Regions from separate parts of the Homo sapiens genome. Here regions 2 and 3 are each linked to region 1. The links are contacts of gene promoters, found by promoter capture Hi-C in blood cells and fetal thymus (Javierre and others, 2016). All regions are on one chromosome and are shown on one strand. The core of a region is centred on a gene start or on the middle of the fragment in contact, and the rest is flanking DNA. Distances in the headings are between cores, read along the strand shown.

What was found. The method cuts DNA at HindIII sites, captures the fragments that hold promoters and counts their contacts. A CHiCAGO score of 5 or more calls a contact.
Region 2: a contact is called between a fragment that was not itself captured here and the fragment with the promoter of EEF1A1 in region 1, in 1 of 17 cell types (non-activated CD4 T cells). The highest score is 7.1, in non-activated CD4 T cells.
Region 3: the fragment with the promoter of FAM135A here is called in contact with the fragment with the promoter of EEF1A1 in region 1 in 4 of 17 cell types (naive B cells, total CD8 T cells, fetal thymus and 1 more); the score reaches 8.4 in naive B cells.

The regions. Positions count from the first base shown.
Region 1 is chr6:73,519,126-73,522,947 of GRCh38, reverse strand. It overlaps EEF1A1 (eukaryotic translation elongation factor 1 alpha 1), which reads left to right and starts at 1,916. Exons shown (of 8, transcript NM_001402.6): 1 at 1,916-1,948; 2 at 2,892-3,065; 3 at 3,432-3,611; 4 at 3,720-3,822. The coding sequence starts at 2,922. RefSeq lists a silencer at 1,159-1,388 and enhancers at 1,111-1,933, 1,969-2,048, 2,099-2,208, 1,934-2,755, 2,499-2,798 and 1 more. The HindIII fragment of the contact is 5,848 bases long and covers 1-3,822 here.
Region 2 is chr6:69,810,211-69,814,032 of GRCh38, reverse strand. No RefSeq gene overlaps it. Among named protein-coding and RNA genes, the nearest start is that of LMBRD1, 15 kb to the right of the region's middle. The HindIII fragment of the contact is 486 bases long and covers 1,704-2,189 here.
Region 3 is chr6:70,411,863-70,415,684 of GRCh38, reverse strand. FAM135A (family with sequence similarity 135 member A) reads right to left here and starts at 2,177. Exons shown (of 22, transcript NM_001162529.3): 1 at 1,983-2,177; 2 at 309-394. It overlaps FAM135A-AS1 (FAM135A antisense RNA 1), which reads left to right and starts at 1,727. Exons shown (of 2, transcript NR_147708.1): 1 at 1,727-1,848; 2 at 2,623-2,857. RefSeq lists silencers at 1,661-1,810, 2,151-2,370. The HindIII fragment of the contact is 2,225 bases long and covers 923-3,147 here.

The DNA.
Region 1 (3,822 bases), core at 667-3,166:
ACTATTATCCGCAATCACAGGGGCTTGAGGAAAAACTTTGACTGTGGCCGGGCACCGTGGCTCACGCCTGTAATCCCAGCACTTTGGGAGACCGAGCCGGGTGGATCACTTGAGGTCAGCAGTTCGAGACCAGCCTGGCCAACATGGTGAAACCCCCGTCTCTTCTAAAAATACAAAAATTTGTGGGGCGCGCTTGTAGTCCCAGCTACTTGGGAGGCTGAGGCAGGAGGAATCGCTTGAACTCGGGAGGCAGAGCTTGCAGTGAGCCGAGATCGCGCCACTGCACTCCAGCCTGGGCAACAGAGTAGAACTCCGTCTCAAAAAAAAAAAAAAAAAAGAAAGAAAGAAAAAAAAGTGGACTGTGAAAACTGAAAGGACTAGAAAAACTACACTACAAAGATACAGAAACCAAGAAAGCACCATAGCGTTTGCCTTCAACTGCTTCCCAACTTGTTTTCCTCTTCCAATTTGATTGTGGTTTCCTCTCCAGAAGGAACTCCACAGTACTTAGCGTTGGCCACATAGTAGGTTCTCAAATACTTGTTAATAAATAAGTTTGTTCGAGAAGCTGGGCAATGATATTCTACAGCTGGAAGAAGAAACATAATGATCTAGTAATTAGCTCATTAAAAATAAACGTTCTTCTTTCCTCAGAGGAGCATTTCCCAAGGCCTGCCTTGATAGCCATCCAAAAAGGCCAAGCTCATCCAATCTTGCCCTAGATTTATGCTAAAATGCAGTTACAATCGATAGGATGACAGAAAACGACAGCACTTATTTAAATATAATAGGCACTTATTTAAATAGGAGAAGCTGTGACTTCATAGCAAGTGTTGGGGTTAGGAAACTGGGTGGATAAACTTGCTGATGCTGTAGATCTTAGCCTCTACATGAGATCATGTGGAAAATCTGAAAGCATTTTAGGTTCCTTATGTTTGCAATCAAATAACTGTACACCTTTTAATTTAAAAAGTACCATGAGGCACACACACACACTCGCAGGAACTTTTTGGCGTAACAAAACTAGAATTAGATCTAAAGCTAACTGTAGGACTGAGTCTATTCTAAACTGAAAGCCTGGACATCTGGAGTACCAGGGGGAGATGACGTGTTACGGGCTTCCATAAAAGCAGCTGGCTTTGAATGGAAGGAGCCAAGAGGCCAGCACAGGAGCGGATTCGTCGCTTTCACGGCCATCGAGCCGAACCTCTCGCAAGTCCGTGAGCCGTTAAGGAGGCCCCCAGTCCCGACCCTTCGCCCCAAGCCCCTCGGGGTCCCCGGGCCTGGTACTCCTTGCCACACGGGAGGGGCGCGGAAGCCGGGGCGGAGGAGGAGCCAACCCCGGGCTGGGCTGAGACCCGCAGAGGAAGACGCTCTAGGGATTTGTCCCGGACTAGCGAGATGGCAAGGCTGAGGACGGGAGGCTGATTGAGAGGCGAAGGTACACCCTAATCTCAATACAACCTTTGGAGCTAAGCCAGCAATGGTAGAGGGAAGATTCTGCACGTCCCTTCCAGGCGGCCTCCCCGTCACCACCCCCCCCAACCCGCCCCGACCGGAGCTGAGAGTAATTCATACAAAAGGACTCGCCCCTGCCTTGGGGAATCCCAGGGACCGTCGTTAAACTCCCACTAACGTAGAACCCAGAGATCGCTGCGTTCCCGCCCCCTCACCCGCCCGCTCTCGTCATCACTGAGGTGGAGAAGAGCATGCGTGAGGCTCCGGTGCCCGTCAGTGGGCAGAGCGCACATCGCCCACAGTCCCCGAGAAGTTGGGGGGAGGGGTCGGCAATTGAACCGGTGCCTAGAGAAGGTGGCGCGGGGTAAACTGGGAAAGTGATGTCGTGTACTGGCTCCGCCTTTTTCCCGAGGGTGGGGGAGAACCGTATATAAGTGCAGTAGTCGCCGTGAACGTTCTTTTTCGCAACGGGTTTGCCGCCAGAACACAGGTAAGTGCCGTGTGTGGTTCCCGCGGGCCTGGCCTCTTTACGGGTTATGGCCCTTGCGTGCCTTGAATTACTTCCACGCCCCTGGCTGCAGTACGTGATTCTTGATCCCGAGCTTCGGGTTGGAAGTGGGTGGGAGAGTTCGAGGCCTTGCGCTTAAGGAGCCCCTTCGCCTCGTGCTTGAGTTGAGGCCTGGCTTGGGCGCTGGGGCCGCCGCGTGCGAATCTGGTGGCACCTTCGCGCCTGTCTCGCTGCTTTCGATAAGTCTCTAGCCATTTAAAATTTTTGATGACCTGCTGCGACGCTTTTTTTCTGGCAAGATAGTCTTGTAAATGCGGGCCAAGATCTGCACACTGGTATTTCGGTTTTTGGGGCCGCGGGCGGCGACGGGGCCCGTGCGTCCCAGCGCACATGTTCGGCGAGGCGGGGCCTGCGAGCGCGGCCACCGAGAATCGGACGGGGGTAGTCTCAAGCTGGCCGGCCTGCTCTGGTGCCTGGCCTCGCGCCGCCGTGTATCGCCCCGCCCTGGGCGGCAAGGCTGGCCCGGTCGGCACCAGTTGCGTGAGCGGAAAGATGGCCGCTTCCCGGCCCTGCTGCAGGGAGCTCAAAATGGAGGACGCGGCGCTCGGGAGAGCGGGCGGGTGAGTCACCCACACAAAGGAAAAGGGCCTTTCCGTCCTCAGCCGTCGCTTCATGTGACTCCACGGAGTACCGGGCGCCGTCCAGGCACCTCGATTAGTTCTCGAGCTTTTGGAGTACGTCGTCTTTAGGTTGGGGGGAGGGGTTTTATGCGATGGAGTTTCCCCACACTGAGTGGGTGGAGACTGAAGTTAGGCCAGCTTGGCACTTGATGTAATTCTCCTTGGAATTTGCCCTTTTTGAGTTTGGATCTTGGTTCATTCTCAAGCCTCAGACAGTGGTTCAAAGTTTTTTTCTTCCATTTCAGGTGTCGTGAAAACTACCCCTAAAAGCCAAAATGGGAAAGGAAAAGACTCATATCAACATTGTCGTCATTGGACACGTAGATTCGGGCAAGTCCACCACTACTGGCCATCTGATCTATAAATGCGGTGGCATCGACAAAAGAACCATTGAAAAATTTGAGAAGGAGGCTGCTGAGGTATGTTTAATACCAGAAAGGGAAAGATCAACTAAAATGAGTTTTACCAGCAGAATCATTAGGTGATTTCCCCAGAACTAGTGAGTGGTTTAGATCTGAATGCTAATAGTTAAGACCTTACTTATGAAATAATTTTGCTTTTGGTGACTTCTGTAATCGTATTGCTAGTGAGTAGATTTGGATGTTAATAGTTAAGATCCGACTTATAAAAGTTTGATTTTTGGTTGCTTCTGTAACCCAAAGTGACTAAAATCACTTTGGACTTGGAGTTGTAAAGTGGAAACTGCCAATTAAGGGCTGGGGACAAGGAAATTGAAGCTGGAGTTTGTGTTTTAGTAACCAAGTAACGACTCTTAATCCTTACAGATGGGAAAGGGCTCCTTCAAGTATGCCTGGGTCTTGGATAAACTGAAAGCTGAGCGTGAACGTGGTATCACCATTGATATCTCCTTGTGGAAATTTGAGACCAGCAAGTACTATGTGACTATCATTGATGCCCCAGGACACAGAGACTTTATCAAAAACATGATTACAGGGACATCTCAGGTTGGTGGGATTAATAATTCTAGGTTTCTTTATCCCAAAAGGCTTGCTTTGTACACTGGTTTTGTCATTTGGAGAGTTGACAGGGATATGTCTTTGCTTTCTTTAAAGGCTGACTGTGCTGTCCTGATTGTTGCTGCTGGTGTTGGTGAATTTGAAGCTGGTATCTCCAAGAATGGGCAGACCCGAGAGCATGCCCTTCTGGCTTACACAC
Region 2 (3,822 bases), core at 697-3,196, 3.7 Mb after region 1:
CAAGTCTTTCCCCTTCTGCTGAGTGTCTTCCATTTGCTCCTCCAGATACACGTTCCATCCTTCTCCACTCTGCTCTGTGCCCCAGGAGGCTGATCATTATGTTTGCAATAAATAGGCTCCCTTGCCTTCTGTTTTCCTGTTAAGTACATTCAAAAAGAGTAACAGAGTATTTATCCCCTGGCTCCCTTCTTGAGGGACTGTAGGTGACAATGGCTACTAGAAAGCTCTTTCCTAAGTGTATAGGTCTTTTCAGATTCCAGTAACCTCCTTCTGAGACAGGGAGTGACCTTTCAGTGGTGGTAATGATTTCCTGTTTTGACAACTCTAGGGTTAGCTTCCCTTTTTCCTGCTCACATCTTTGTAAATAGTCCAATCATTGAACTCTTCTTCTGAATCACTTTTAGATGATTAAAAGTACACTTTTAGATGTACTACCCTCTGTTTCTTGCCAGAATCCTGACTGATTGACTCCTCCTTTTTTTCTGACTACCTCATGTCTTCGGAGTTCAAGTTGTTAAAAAAAAATGATCTGATAATCAAACTTAAATTCATGTGTTCAGTGAGACAAAGCAAGAACCTTTCTTAGGGGGCTGCTGCCTGCTCCCCTTGCCAAACATGGAAATAAAGAAAAATATTGAATTCCTTTAAGGGAACTTCCAGACACCTGGTTAGCCCTAAGAAGTAAATGAGCAACTTGATAAGCAAGAAGGCAAGAGTAGCTTAAAACTATAGCCAAGGGAATTAGAGTTCTGAGATGTTTGGTTTCCTTGTAACTGCTCAACGGATTCACCTTGCCCACTGCTTAGACAGAGACGATTTATGAAGAGAGGGGAACTGCAAGGCAGAACGACTAAGTCACACAGAGCCATCTGTGCAGGAGACTGGAGTTTTATTATTACTCAAATCAAATATCCTTGAGCATTTGAGGATCAGAGTTTTTAAAGATAATTTGGCAGGTAGGGGCTTGAGAAGTGGGGAGTGCTGATTGGTCAGGTTGGAGATGGAACCATAGGGGGTCGAAGTTGACTTTTTCTTGCTGTTTTCTGTTCATCTGGGTGAGATGGTAGAACTGGTTGAGCCAGATTACTGGTCTGGGTGGTGTCTGCTGATCCATCCAGTGCAGATTCTGCAAAATATCTCAAGCACTGATCTTAGGTTTGCAATAGTGATGTTATCCCCAGCAACTTGGAGCCAGAGGCTGCATGCCCCTAAACTGTAATTTCTAATCTTGTAGCTAATTTGTTAGTCCTGCAAAGGCAGACTGGTACCCAGGCAAGGAAGGGGTCTTTTCAGGAAAGGTCTATTATCAATTTTGTTTCAGAATCAAGCCATGAACTGAATTCCTTCTCAAAATTAGTTTGGCCTATCCTCAGGAATGAAGAAGGACAGCTTAAAGATTAGGAGCCAGATGGAATCAGTTAGGTGTGATTTCTGTCACTGTCATAATTTCCTCAGTTATAATTTTGCAAAGGCGGTTTCACCCTGTAGAAACTAAAGAGAACATCAGAATATATGTCCCTGAGTTGTTTCTTAGAAGCTGGTACCCCCACCAAATGGATTCCCTGGCATGTAGACCTCAAATAAGAGGTAATTGAGGACTGAACTCTTGCTTTAAATTTCTTCCTGAGGGGCATGGAGGAAGTCACGCCCACAGGCCAGACTTAATATTTCTTTCTTCTGATCCCAAATTTTTAAACAAAGCTTCTCTTCTTTAACCAATTGCAAGTCAGAAAATCTTTGAAATCCAGTTATGACCTGGAAGCACCCTGCCCCACCTGACTCTGCTTCCACCTTTGTAGGCCAAACCAATGTATCACCTCTATGTGTTGATTTATAGTTTTGCCTATAACTTCTGCTTTCCTGAAATTTACCTCTGCCTTTAAACACCCTTGCTTGCAAGCCATCTGGAAGTTTGGGTCTTACATTTCAGCTGCCCAATTATCCTTGCTTGGTACCCTACTAATAAAGGCCCTCCTTTCTCCTGCTGCAAAGCAACCTCGGTATGAATATTTGGCCTTACTGCACTGGGCAATGGGACCCCTGTTTGGTTTAGTAACATAAGAGTGGCCCACGCCTTTTCTACGTTTCTTAGAAATGAGTTCAAATCTGAGTCACTTCTGCAGAAATCACCATTGACCTTATCCTCTCTATTTAACTTTTTCATTATTCCACCCCTTTTTAGTCAAGCTTCCTGAAAGAATATTTTACATTCATGACCTCCGTTTTCCTAATTCTCCTTCATTCCTCTAAGCCAGTGCAACTTGTCTGCTTCCTATCCACTCCAGTGGAATTATTCTAGAAAATTCGTTAATGACCCCCCCACTCATGTTGCCATACTCGGTGGGCACTTGCTAGTCCTCTCACTATATTTGGTATTGACAGCTACTCATTAGTTTTAAAAAGTATCTTCTCTCTTTGTTTATATGATGTATTCTGATTATTAGTTCTAACCACTCTTTTCCTTTTATTCTCTCCTTAAAGTTTGCTGTTTTTTTAGGGTTGTCTATTTAGCTGACTATTATTCTCACTTCTACCAATTTTTCCTGGGAATTTTTTGCATTTTCATTGCTTCAGCTTTTACTTGAGTATAGATGACTCATACCTCTGTGGCAGGTCCCTTGGCTGAGTTTCCCGCCTATACATTCTATGAACTAGAGCTATCCGTGTTCCTCAGGCACCTCAAATCCAAGGTACCAAATAAAATCTACTACCTTGTTTCCTTCACTCTAAGGTGACATTGACTGTAAGATGCACCATCATTTTATAAATGATGAAGAACAAAATATACCAGTTATAGTGGTAAGATCCCATCAATTTAAAGGTGAGTCCTAACATCAGAGATGTTAAAATGTAAAGGAGAAAAGTGCATCTTAGAATCTATGAAATACAGTTTATTTCTGTCATTCCTCACCCTTAATCTTCTCTTCTTCGTATGTTCCCTGTCTTCATTAGTGGCATCATCATTCTCCACATCTCTCAATTTACAATTCTGAAAAGCATCTCTAATGTTAACTCGGCTTGGCTATAATAATCAACTATTCAAATGCTATGTGTTGCCGTGAAGGTATTTTGTAGACATGATAAATATCTACAATCAGTTGACTAAGTACAGTTGACCCCTGAATAAGTTAGGGGTTAGGGATGCTGAATCCCCATGCACTTGAAAATCTGCCTATAACTTTTGACTCTCCAAAAACTTAACTAGTAATAGCCTTCTATTGACTGGAATCCTTACCAATAACATAAATAGTTGATTAACATATATTTTGCATGTTGTATTTATTATATATTGCATTCTTCCAATAATGAAAACTAGAGAAAAGAAAATATTATTAAGAAAATTATGGTTGGGCATGGTGGCTCATGCCTGTAATCCCAGCACTTTGGGAGGCCGAGGTGGGCGGATAACCTGAGGTCAGGAGTTCGGGACCAGGCTGGCCAACATGGAGAAACCCCGTCTCTATTAAAAATACAAAAATTAGCCAGGCGTAGTGGAAGGTGCCTGTAATCCCAGCTACTCAGAAGGCTGAGGCAGAAGAATCGCTTGAACCCGGGAAGCAGAGGTTGCAGTTAGCCGAGGTTGTGCCACTGCACTCCAGCCTGGGTGACAGAGTGAGACTTTGTCTCAAAACAAAAAAATAAATAAATAAAAAAGAAAATAAAGTCATAAGGAAGAGAAAATATATTTACTATTAATTAAATGAAAATGGATTGTCAAAAAGGTCTTCATCCTAACTGTCATCATGTTGAGTGGGCTGAAGAGGAGAGAAAGGAGGGGTTGGTCTTGCTGTCTCAGGGTTGGTAGAGGCAGGAGAAAATCTG
Region 3 (3,822 bases), core at 928-3,427, 3.1 Mb after region 1:
CTTTTTTAAAATGAATGTTTACCTAAAAATAAAAAGACCTGGCTTTTTATTTGAAGGAAGTGCAAGCTTCCTTGAGAAGCAGCAGTTTCTTTATTTGCATTTGAAAAATCATTTTTAAAAAATCTTAAAAGCTGATGAGTGCATCACCTCTTACCATACACAATTGCTAGTTCTTCTCAAAGAAGTGTGGTTTGATGACACCAGAGCCTCCTAGTTTTACTTTAAATCACTTTGAATAAGGAACTACACTTTTTTTTTTGCCTTGGTATTTCCCTTCTTAAAACAGAAACAGAAAACTTAATTCCTACCTGACACAGACAACATAAGGAAGAATTTGTTTGTGGACTGCTTTGAGATTCCAGAACCAAATACATAATCCAGTTGATCTTCAACCCTACAATAAAGACAAACTTCACTAAACATAATTGCTTCAGCAGATGCCTTCAAAATAAGATACTATACCATTATTTATGGAAAGAGAAGTTTTATTTAAGCCAAATCTTGATCACAATGCAATGGAGGAAAAAAATTACAAAACCGTTTAGAAAGTTCTTCTGCTCAATTAAAAAATTTAATACTTCTCACGTATGTCTCCTATAAGCACACTAATTCTAAAGGTAGCAGAAATTGTATGCATTTATTAGAGAACAGAGACTCTCAGGAAAATTATGCAATCAATTGCAATAGCAAATGTATAAAACAAATTAATAATACATTTTAAAAAAGAAATTCTGTTAAATTTCATTTAAGATTAGTTCTTGGACAGCTACACCTAATGGAGGACAAGAAAATTTCCAAATTTTAAGTGTATGTTTGTAGGTCAACCTTTAACAAGTCTTAACCCATTATAGTTTCATTTAGTCTGTACTCAAGTTGCTTTCCCAGGCATGCCAGGTAAACATAATTCTTAAAAATTAAAGCTTTAATCAGTAAGTGTAACCGATTTGTTGCTACTGTCACTCTTTTGATGATACTTCCACCAACCGGTAAAGAAAGAAGAAATGTTATTAAACTGGAAGATGAACTAGAAACATTGAGTGGATACCTAGCTTAGGCAGAAAGCAGCAAGGACTAGAAGGGTATGTCACAAAGAAGTCTTCAGAGATTTAATAAAAAGTAAAACAAATGGAATGAAGTTAAGAGGCTTGACTTATACAAATGGGGGGGGGAGGGTGGAAGAGTTTTGGAGGGGAAAAAATTAAGATTAGAGACTCACTGGGTGCAGAATGGAAAAGGACGTGAGGATAGGGGCCATTAGACAGAAAGCGATGAAGCAGGGTACCAGAGGAAAGAGAAGGCAGTGAGGGTTTCCGAAGCTAAGATGGGGCATGGAATGAACTCCAATGCAAAGCGATGCTAAAGCAAAACACAATCGGCAACTAACAAAAAGGGAACCAGGAGGAAGTACCGAAAGGAGGTGGATGAGAGGAAAATAAAACCAAGGAAGAAATTATGGAGGTAACAAGAGTGAGAAACCTGGTCGGCCAGGGTAAGGAGCTCCGGACAGGGAAGAGCCAGGCAAGGGATGGAAGCACAGAGATACGCTGCTTCCCAAGGAGGGACCACCCGGGCAAAAAGACACGTGGGAGGCGCGGGATGAAAAAGCAGAACCACGAAAGCGGGTAAAGGAGGGACAGAGCGACGAAGATGGAGCAGGGGTGAAGGGCAAACACGCTAGGCGCGAGGTTCAGGAAGAACGGGTCGAGGGACGCGCGCAGGGGCAGGGGCGGCCGCGGGCACCGGGAGAGCAGCGCGCCGCGGCCCCTCGCCTCCCTCAGAGCGCTCCGCACCGCCGTCCCCACCGACCTTCAACGGGGCCGGGGCCAGGCTCCGACCGCCAGCAGTCGGGTGAGGGGCCGCGGCGGGCGAACGGCGGACGAAGAGGAGGCCGCTTCCTTCCTGGCCCCTGGGCAAGAGGGACGGAGGGAGGGGTCGTGGGTGTCGGGAGCCGGGGGAGCCAGAGGGGACAGTAAGGGGGTTACCTCTCGCCCGGCTCGGCCTCTTCCCCCGCCTGTCGAACGGAGGAGCTCGTTGTCCAGCTGCAAGAAGACGGCCCGACCCGGGTCAGCACCATCCCGCCCCGGGCCCCCTCACATCGCCATCACAGCAACCGCAAACACCGCAACCGCGGAGCCGGTTCGTCACCGCGGCTCGGCTACTGGCCCAGCGCGGCCAGCGAGCATGCGCAGTCGCCCCAGTCCCGAGGGAGCCCGGGCCAGCCGGCTATACCTGCGATCAACAGGTCCCCGGCCGCACGGCCCCGCCCCCGGCCTCTCTCACCTCCTCCTCCCGCCTCTTCCCTCCCCTCTCTGAGGCTAGGCCCCGCCCCTTCAAGCTCCGTGCCCCGCCCTTCAGGAGCTTCAACTGCCCCTCCAGCTCCAGCGCCAACTGAGATTTCGAGAGATTTGTCCTCCCTACCAGGCTCCCGTTCCCAAGTTCCCGCGAGAACGGGAGGTTTGCGTCAATAAAAGGCGCGCGTCAAGAAAAGGGGCTCGCTTGTGGGTTTAAGGGATGGAACTTGGAGGTGGTTGAAGAGTAGTGAACAAGAAGAGGGCAAAAACACGGAGTTCGAGAACTTTAGCCGTTTTTCTCACAATGTTGTTTCTCCTTTTCTCTCTTTAGCTCCTCCGTGCAGTCCCGGGTAGAGAGCCCGGTCCCTGCGCTAGTCGATTTGTGCAGTAGGAAAGGAGGCTGCAGGGGATCTGCGCCGGGGCAGGACAGATGCCTTTCGGGACCCAGTGTTTGCATCTTGGGAGATGTGGGTGCTGATCTGGTTGTTTCTTGGTTTATGACGCCAAAAAGGGCGGGAGGGGGCTGATGAAGTGAAGCCTTTCGCTAATACATTCCGTTAACAGAAGCCCACGAAGGATCATTGATTTATTTCACTCTTCCCTGTTTCTGAACCTTATCTGGCAAAAACTTTTGTGGTGCATAAAGTTCAGTATGTTGCTAAAGCTGAGTTAATGAAAGGAAAATTTCAGCTGCGACTCTTGTTTTAAAAATGAATCTAGGATGGATAGTGGTGTTGGTTGCACAACAATGAATGGACATAATGCTACTGAACTGTGCACTTAAAAATGGTTAAAATGGTAAATTTTCTGTTATGTATATTTTACCACAATAAGAATGAATTAGAAGGGAAAAGCTTTGTGCATTCATTTGAAAGTAATGGTGAGGTCTTGTAACGTAGGCCATTTAGGGGACAGGTTTTGAATATATCTTTGTACCAGTTTTTTTTTTTTTCGAGTGTGTGTGTGAGACAGAGCATTGCTCCGTCGCCCAGGCGGGAGTGCAGTAATGTGATCTCGGCTCACTGCAACCTCTGCCTCCGGAGTTCAAGCAATTCTCCTGTCTCAGCCTCCCTAGTAGCTGGGACTACAGGCGCACACCACCACGCCTGACTACTTTTTGTATTGTTAGTAGAGACGTGGTCTCACCATATTGGTCAGGCTGGTTTCGAACTCCTGACCTTAGGTGATCCACCCGCCTTGGCCTTCCAAAGTGCTGGGATTACAGGCCTAAGACACCGTGCCTGGCTTGTACCAGTTTTTACATGATTGGGTGTCCTCTTATCCTGTGAACCAATTTATTTGCATTTGTATGAATGGCCTGCTTTCCTGATTTCTAATTTGTCCCTTCTTTTATAGCCCTATACCATTTTACTATCCTTGCTAAACAGGCTTTTATTGCTTGTTTTGTGACTTGAACTTTAGCCTCAAAATTGGAAAGGCTTTTTCTGTTTTTTTTTTAGTTCCAGCCATGTCTTAGGAAAATATAGTAAACAACCAATTATTTGCATTTCCACGTCCGTGCATCCCTAAA